2 separate regions of the Homo sapiens genome follow, and region 1 is linked to region 2. The links are contacts of gene promoters, found by promoter capture Hi-C in blood cells and fetal thymus (Javierre and others, 2016). All regions are on one chromosome and are shown on one strand. The core of a region is centred on a gene start or on the middle of the fragment in contact, and the rest is flanking DNA. Distances in the headings are between cores, read along the strand shown.

Region 1 (4,848 bases), core at 1-2,500, 200 kb before region 2:
GATTTTATGTTCATAGCATCATCTTGCCAAATTCCATCTCCCACACAGGGCAAGCAAAATCAGGACCTGATGCTATCTAGCCTTACCAAAGAGAAATGCAATGAAGGCAACGACAAGAAACATGTATTTTACAGAAAGGTTGGCAAATTGCTTACCAAGGCTGCCACCTCTGAAAACCCCATTATATGGGAGTTCTCCATTTGCGGCAAAGATGCACTCACCTTCCCACCTCTTCTTCCCTCCGCTCCCCACCCCCCGACCAGGAAGCCACCGGGCAAATTTCAGACCGAAAAACGTGCTAACACACAATATGGGGGAATTTGGGGTAAAGACACAAAAGAATCTGGCATTAAATGACGGTAAATACTGTGAGAAAATACTCCGATTCTCACCCCCTGATATTTTTTCCTGGGGATCCGGCCTGACTCAGTAACCGGCTCCAACAAACAGATTTTCTTGATTCAAACCCAATTCCCTTCCTAGGGAATCTTGGGTCCTGCCAGGCTCCATAACCAGTGAAGGATGATGAAATGGTTTTACTGCAAAATGGGAGGGGGTTCCCCCACTGCTGTCTCCCAAGGTTAAACCCCTTACTCATCCAGGAGGAGCCAAACACGGGGACTGGGGCTAGAAAACTCATCCGCGTTTGATTAAATTTTAATTTCTGGAAACCAGAAAGCACGGAGCAGAGGTGACAGGGCTGAAGGGGACGTTCTTGCCGACCAAGACGCAGGGAGGGGTCGCGTGGGGCCCGAAGCAGATAGTGAGGGAGGGTCCGGGATCCCCGGCTCCGCTGTCCCTTACGGCACAGTACGGAGTTGCACCCCGCCCGGCCGGCAGGACCTCAGGCGGCCCGAGCCTCTCCAAGAGGTAAAGGGCCCGGCCCCGGAAACAGGGAGGGGCCGCTGCGAGGTCTGGCCTCGCCGCCGGCGGCCGCGCGGAGCGAAAGAGGCAGCGCGCCGCTACCCCACGGGGCCCACCCACTGGGCCGCCGTCGTCGCAGCAGCCAGAGAGGGGCTTCGAGTTTGGGCCCCCGGGGGCCCCGGTCGGACCCCGCGCCGCACTCACCGTGGGAGGGCTGCAGGGAACAAAGACCCTTCCGAGCGAAGCTCCGAGCGAGATGACCTCTTCCTTCCTAAGCCCACTACTCAGGCGGCGGCAGCGGTGCCTGCAGTGGCTGCAGCGGCGGCGGCGGCGGCGACTACCCCGGCTCCGGAATCGGCGGCGGCGGTGGCGGTAGCTCCACTTCCGCTCCGATCGCCACTTCCGCTCCGGTCCTGGCCGCGCCCCGCCCCAAACCGTGTTCTCATTGGGCAAGCGAGGCACGGGGTTGCCACGGCCCCACGGGAGGGGCGCAGACGGAAGGGAGGAGGAAGAAGAGCGAAAGGCAGGGTTGCAGGGGCCGGGGCAGGGCGGATGGCCGGGGGAGGGACCCAGGAGGAGGTGGGCGGAGAAGAAGGAAATGGGGCGGGGGAGCGGGAAAAGGAGGTGGGAGGAGAGAGGGCGGAGCTGGGGGTGGTCAAGATACGGGCTGTGTGGGAATAAGGAGGACTAGGAGTGTGGTCTGGATGGGGATTGCCCTTTCTGCTGGGACTGGAAACGCGCCAGGGCCAGTCCCGGAGATTCGAGGTTTAGCAGTTCCCCCTCCACCCCGAAAGTAATCCTCACTGGGTCGGAGGCCGATGTCAGTCCTCTTACTGTGTGCTTTGGTAATGCTGGAGCCAGGGAAGAACAGAAATTGCTCATCCCTCAATGTTCATTTAATCCTTTCAATCCTTCAGGGTACTTACCTTTTCCTTCTTTGGTAGACTGAAGAGGCCACGTGAAGTGCCAGGAATCCAATGCACAAACGTCTTTTTAAAAAACCTGTGTAGGGTCGAGCGCAGTGGTTCGCGCCTGTAATCTCAGCACTTTGGGAAGCTGAGGTGAGAGGATTGCTTGAGGCCGGGAGTTGTAGGCTGCAGTGAGCTATGGTCATGCCACTGCACTCCAACCTGGGAGACAGAGTGAGACCCTGTCTCCAAAAAAAACCCACAAAAATCTGTGTACATGATTTCTTCTTTAAGATGCCCCCTCGTTGAGGAAGTTCAGGGAAGGAAACAGGCCTCCATGGCTCCCCTCCCCTCCATGACTGCTCTCACAATTACCAACATTCTACTCCTCTGAAGGTAGTTGATTTTGTTTTGTTTTGTTTTGTTTTGTTTTCTGTTTTTGAGACAGAGTCTCTTTCTGTCGCCCAGGCAGTGTCACAATCTTGGCTCACTGCAATCTCTGCCTCCCAGGTTCAAGCAATTCTCCTGCCTCAGCCTCCTGAGTAGCTGGGATAACAGGTGCATGCCACCACTCTCGGCTAGTTTTTGTATTTTTAGTAGACACGGGGCTTCGCCATATTGGCCGGGCTGGTCTCAAACTCCTGACCTCAGGTGATCCACCCGCCTCAGCCTCCCAAAGTGCTGGGATTACAGACATGAACCACCTCGACCGGCTTCAAGGTAGTTGATTTTTAAACTCAGTCCTTCAAAATGCCTCTCGCCTTCCCTCTCTCCTGTTCATTTATTCTTTCAACAAATGTTGAACAGGCTTTTTGCTTAGTGCTGGAGACACAGCAATGAACAAGGCAGGTGGGGCCCTGCTGTCTTGGAGTTTGCAGTCGGGTAGGAGAAAAAGCCAAGTAAATAGGCCTTTGCCGTCTTGCCTTTACCCTTACTTAGCTAAATGACAGACTTCTAATTCACCATTTGGTCTCAGCCTCGCCCGTCAACTGCCAAGTGATCTTTTAAAAATACCATTCTAATCGTGTCCTGTTCTTGCTTAAATTATTTAGTGTGCACTCAGACCTAGATGACAATATATAAGTTCCTTGAGTGTGACAATCAGGGTTCTCCAAAAGCTGCCCTTATCCTTTAGCTGCTATTTCTCCCCCATCGTAAATACCCCAATTCAATTGGATGATTCCTTACCCTCCCAATATGCCATCTCCAGTATTTCTAAGCAGTTTGACTTAGTTGCCAACACTTTTTTAAACTGAAAAGTTTCTGTGTGAACAGAAATCTGCCTCTCTGCCTTGTCTGGTAACACTGTGTCCACATTTCTGTGTGGCAACAATTGGCTGAAGCCAAGGAGTGGCTGCCTGTTCTAGACTGGGCATGGACTTTCCCAAATGCCAGGGACCCTTCTCGACCTGAGTCTGCTTTTGTCACTTATGTTATCTGTCATGTAGGCATGTGTGCCAGTGACCCCTGTACTGTGCCACCTTTTAAGTTGAACAAGATTGAGAACGTGTTGTGTAACGTAAACAGCATGGTTTTGGGTCAAAACCATTGGATTTGAATCCTGGAGAGGTTAGTGCAAAAACTTCCCCATGAGGATCGTCTTTGGCAGACCCTAGACCAGTAATCTAGAGACTACTCAGGCTAAGTAACTTTTAATGTCACAAGACTGTGCCTTATGCCGTCATCCAGAAAATAGCCTAATGGACCAGAGGGCTAATAATGATTATACCACAAATGACATCAACAGTGCATTGAGGGAACAGAAGTGCCCTTTGTCAGGCATTCCTAGGTGCCTGTTAAAGGGTTCAATGGATTAGCTTATTTCACCATCTCTGCATTCTAGGCCAAGCGTCAGCAAACCACAGCTATGAACTGACAGCGATACAGATAAATGTTAAAATACAATGTGGTAGGTGCAACCATAGAAATAAATATATGTGCAGGGTATTATGGGAGCTTGGGAGAAGAGCACCTAACCCATCTTGGGAATATGATGGGAGAGCAGGAAAGATTTCCTTAAAGAAGTGATACTAGAGCCTTATATACTGCAGTGAATCTTTTTTCAAATTATAGACTTAATTTTTAAAAATGTTTTTGTAGAGACAGAGTCTCATTATGTTGCCCAGGCTGGGCTCAAACTCCTGGCCTCAAGTGATTCTCCTGCCATGGCCTCCCAAAGTGCTGGGATTACAGGTGTGAGCCACTGTGCCTGGCCAATAGACTTAATTTTTTAGAACAGTTTTAGGTTTACAGAAAAATTGACCAGATATTACAGAGTTCCCACATTCCCTCTCCCTCCTCCACACAATTTCCCCTATTATTAACATCTTGTATTAGAGTGGTACATTTGTTGCAATTGATGAGCCAGTATTAATACATCATTATTAACTAAAGTCCGTAGTTTACATTGGGGTTCATTCTTTATGTTGTACATAGTTCTATAGGTTTTGACACATGCATAATGTCATGTATATAAATAAAAGTTTTACTGTCCTAAAAATCTTTGCTTCAACTCTTCATCCCTCACTCCCTCCCCTCACCCCAACCTTTGGCAACCGCAGACCTTTTACACTATAGTTTTACCTTTTCTAGAATGTCATATAGTTACATCATACAATATGTTGCTCGCTTTCTTTCTTTCTTTCTTTCTTTCTTTCCTTCCTTCTTTTTTTTTTTTTTTGACAGGGTGTCACTCTGTCACCCAGGCTGGAGTGCAGTAGTGCAATCACAGCTCACTGCAGCCTCGACCTCCTGGGTTCAAGTGATTCTCCCACCTCAGCCTCCCTAGTAGCTGGGACTACAGGCGTGTGCCACCACACCCAGCTAATTTTTGTATTTTTTATAGAGATGGGGTTTTGCCATGTTGCCCAGGCTGGTCTTGAACACCCAGGCTCAAGCAATCCTCTTGCCTTGGCCTCCTAAAGTGCTGGGTAATAAAGTGTGAGCCATTGTACCCAGCACATATGTCGCCTTTTCTGACTGGATTGTTTTATTAAGTAATGTGATTTAAGTTTCCTTCATGTCTTTTTATGATTTGATAACTTATTTCTTTTGATTGCTTAAAAAATCCCCTTGT
Region 2 (4,197 bases), core at 1,568-4,067:
TTGCTGGCAAATTCTGTCTGAGTTCTGGGAAGCAGGGCTTATCCTTGAGGGCACACCGCCCCCTGCTGGCCAAGATGGGTTTTTCCTCCCCAGCTTAGACCAGGAGAGGAGGCAGGACGGCTGGCGACTGAGGGGGGCTGCCTCTGGAGTCTGGGTTTGATCTCACGTATACCATTGACTCCTATGTGACCTCAGGTAAGCAACTTCACCTCTCTGGGCTTTCTACTTCCTCACCTATAAAATCGAAATAATAGCCATTCTTCTCACTCTCGGCGTTGTTGGAGGAATAATCCGGTGATCGGGCTTGAAGGTGCTTCACAGAGTGTGGCAAAAAACAAGTGCTAACTAAACAGTGGCTGGGATTCTTGACATTCAGAAAGACCCAGTGGAGAGAGAGAAAGGATGACGGGAGCTTAGCAAAAGAAGCAGCTGGTGCAGCTGGAATTTCATAGGTCCACTTCTGCCTAGCCAACTTCTAAACCTGTTTTCTCTTGGCTCCCTTACTTTCCAGCCAGAGGCTCAGTCATACTGCAATGCTGAGAACTCCCTGCCTAAGCCAGACAGGGCCTTGACCTTTCCCCCACGTTGGGCTGGGCACACTAGAGTGCTGAGCAAATCCACACTCAGCACCTCCCCTCCCCCCCCCACACACACACATACACAAAGCCACACATGCAAAGCATTTGGATATCTTCTTCCAGGGAGCTTATAGACACCCCAGCAGAGGCTTCTGTGATCACACTGGCTGAGCACCAGCTCTCTGTGTGGTGCTGGATGAGGGGAGTTTTATCTGAGCCACTCTGGCCCCCCGCTGTAGGGCCCTGTCCTCTTATTTGACATTCAACTCTTGCCTAATTGACAATTACACTCATATCCTTCCTCTGCTCTGCAACCTTCCATGGCTCCCCAGTGCCTACCACCTAAGGCCAGATTCCTCACCCTGGCATTCAAGGCCACTCATGGCCTTGGATGGTCTGTGTGTGGAGGGGCCCACTAGGCTACATGAGGAACGCTCTCTCAAATCCTGCCCTTCCTTCAAGATTGAACTAAATGCCACTTCCTTCCTTCCTTCATTTCTCTACCCATTCATTCAACATGATTTATTAAACACAAAATGGATTTATTAGCACATATTTATTACCTACTATGTGAAGACATTATTCTAGGCAGTGGAGAGAGATAGTGGTCTCAGCCAATTGCAACTGAAATGTGTTAGTTTTGCAAATGTGAAACATATGCCCATGCGAATGCGTTGGAAAGTTCCTCCATGGCCCTGGGAGAGGACATGCAAGTCAGGAGCCCTGATGCGTCACCAGCCTCACAGTAAATTCACCTCTGTGCCCAAGAATGCAGGGCTGTCTCCTGGTCCAGGATCATGGTCTCTTCCTCCTCTGATCTCCAAGGACTTGCACTCTCGGCTCTGCCACTGACCAGCTTTGTGACTTTGGGAAGTCATTTTTCTAAGTCTCAGATTATGTATGTAAATGGGTATATAGGAAGTGATTCCTACCTTGAGAGAGGAATTAAATGTTAATTAAATTGCTTAAAGGGGTTAGGTTACATTAGATTAGGTGTAAAAACGTCTGCACGTGGTAAGTGCTCATTGAGCGGCAGCCATTATTATTACTATTAGCCGCAGCTGACTTGGGCAACACCTGCTACCTGCTTCCAGATGGATCCAGAGGTTTGCTTTCTTTGCCCACTGGAGGGCAGCAGAAAGCAGAAACCTGCCTTCCAGAGCTTTGCACCCCGGCTAACACCTAACACTGGCCTCTCAAGAGGCAGGAGGAAGGGTAAGGGGTTTCTGGGCTCAAAAGTGAGGCTGGCCAGTGAATTTTCTGTGTCTCTAGGACTGGATGCTAGTGGCTGGGGTAGGTTCCCTAAACAGCTCCAATCAATGCAAAGGCAGCCAAGTCATCCAGCCCACAGCCCCAGTGTCCGTCCCTGGATGCATCCCACAGTCCTGGACAGGATGGGCAGGAGTTCTGGCCTCTGGAGCTGCTCTTCGCATTTCTGTCTGTGTGACCTTGGGCAAGTGCCTTGACCTCTCTGTGCCTCCATTTCTTTTTCCGTAAAATGGAAATATTGCTGTTTCCCCCAAAAGGAAAAGCTTCCATATATGCAGAGGGATGGCCATGCTTGCGTTGCTTTGCATCAGGTAAATCTGTTACATTGTAATTAGCTTTTTTCTTCTGATCACAAATGCAATGCATTAATTGGTTTGAATATTTTGAGTGCCCTACAGCAGGTCAACCCCTGCATGAGCTGATGAAATTGGCAAAAATGAAGCTAGTCATTGTGTTGGGGTGGTGGGATTCTGGATGACAGAGTTCCCCCCTCAGCAACCGCCACCCCATTCTCCCAACTTTCTATGTTATTGCATCGCCTTTACAATGGTAGAAAAGAGAGACCAGGAGGAACGTAACTGAGCACTTACTATGTGTGAGATGTTTCCATTTATCCTTTCCCTAATTCTGCAGGCTCTACACGGCAAGCCCATGTCTGTGTTGCTTGCTGCTGTTTTCCCAGTGCCCAGCACCGTACCTGGCATGTCGTTGGTCCTCAAAACATACTTGTTTAGCAGTCAAAGAAATGATTTGTGCAAAGTTTACAAATGAGGAAATTGAGGTTCAAAGAGGTTATGTGACTTGTTCAATATCACCTAGCTAGTGGGACGCAGGACCAGGATCATTGGACTTCAGGTCCTGAGGAAGGTCTTTCTACTCATGCCTGTCCCTCTGCCTCCTCACATTCCGACACCCTCTTTGTAAAGCTGTCTTATTTTACAGGCATCTGATCAGGCGGCCTGCAAGAAGAGTGCGCCCCCTTAGCCAGTATGGCCACGCTTCCTCCCTTAGGGGCTGCTGGGTGTGCCCCTCATCTTCTCAACCCCCTGGGGACCCCTGGAGGATCTGGAGCACACCCTCCAGCTGGGGGATTTGCCCAGCAGGTGAGGCCCCTTAGTCGCTGTAGCCCATTTGGAAGTTTGGCAGGTGGATTTCTAGTGCAAGGCCACCTCTGCCCTCTGAGCTCAGAGCCACCTATTTCTGCCCCACCCAGTCCTGCACACAGCTGGTAGCAGGTGCAGGGAGGAGGCAAAAGCCAGACTTTGCCCCTTTATCTTGCACCCCTTTTCCCATTCTCAGGCAGATGTGTGTCCAAAAGTGTTTGACCTGTGCTGTGTGCATATGGGAATATGCACATATATACATGCGTGTCCCCATGCACATACCTGTGGACATGGGCAGCCCTGTGTGTGAGCACACATGTGTGTCTGAGTGTGGCTTGTGCGATCCTCCATGTGCCCATGGGTGCAGACGTGAATCCGAGTGTGAACGTGAGCTTATATGTAGCTCTGCATGTGTGTGGGTAATGCTGAAGGATAGACCACCAAGCAGAAGGGCATCTCCTTGCCCCGCCTCAGTTTCCTCATCTGTAAAATGGGGACAACAATGGCACCTAACAGGTGGAACCGGCAAGGCACACAGTAAGTGTCATGATAGTAGCCCTTTTTATTAAGCTTCTCGGGGATGTGTGCGGATTCCACAAAATAAGAACGCAGAAAGGGACTGGCTCAAGAAATGTTTCTCCCATCATTCTTTCATCCTTAGGTCCAGAAGTATTTCTTCTGTTCTCTTGGTTTTATCACTGCAAAGGTAATATAACAACAGTGGAGGAAGTTTGAGAAGAAAACATGGGGAAGGGGAGATACCTGTCCCCCAAAACCCCACCACTCCCGACACAAGAAGGAATTTCATTTTTGCTTGTTCTTTTCCTGACTTTGTCCATGAGCCAGCATGGAGCTTGGCACACAGCGCCGAGCTCGAAAAAAATATTTGGATGTTTTAACAAATATATATTAGCTAAAATGACTACACTGAGTATTTTTCCATCCTGCATTTGTTCACACATCAGGGACATTTTCCATATGATAGCTGGTCTTTATAGTTATTATAATTATTATTATTATTTTGAGATGGAGTCTGACTCTCTCGCCTGGGCCGGAGTGCAGTGGCTCAATCTCGGCTCACTGCAACCTCCGCCTCCCAGGTTTAAGCGATTGTCCTGCCTAAGCCTTCTGAGTAGCTGGGATTACAGGCATGCACCACCATGACAGGGTAATTTTTGTATTTTTAATAGAGATGAGTTTTCACCATGTTGGCCAGGCTGGTCTTGAACTCCTGACCTCCAGTGATC

What was found. Contacts are between HindIII fragments. The CHiCAGO score rates a contact against its expected background, and 5 or more counts as called.
Region 1: the fragment with the promoter of YWHAB here is called in contact with a fragment that was not itself captured in region 2 in 2 of 17 cell types (M2 macrophages and M0 macrophages); the score reaches 6.5 in M2 macrophages.

The regions. Positions count from the first base shown.
Region 1 is chr20:44,882,107-44,886,954 of GRCh38, reverse strand. YWHAB (tyrosine 3-monooxygenase/tryptophan 5-monooxygenase activation protein beta) reads right to left here and starts at 1,250. Exons shown (of 6, transcript NM_139323.4): 1 at 1,069-1,250. RefSeq lists silencers at 957-1,506, 1,567-1,626 and an enhancer at 904-1,520. The HindIII fragment of the contact is 6,156 bases long and covers 1-4,848 here.
Region 2 is chr20:44,681,230-44,685,426 of GRCh38, reverse strand. No RefSeq gene overlaps it. Among named protein-coding and RNA genes, the nearest start is that of LINC01260, 12 kb to the right of the region's middle. RefSeq lists silencers at 60-179, 1,781-1,840. The HindIII fragment of the contact is 1,410 bases long and covers 2,113-3,522 here.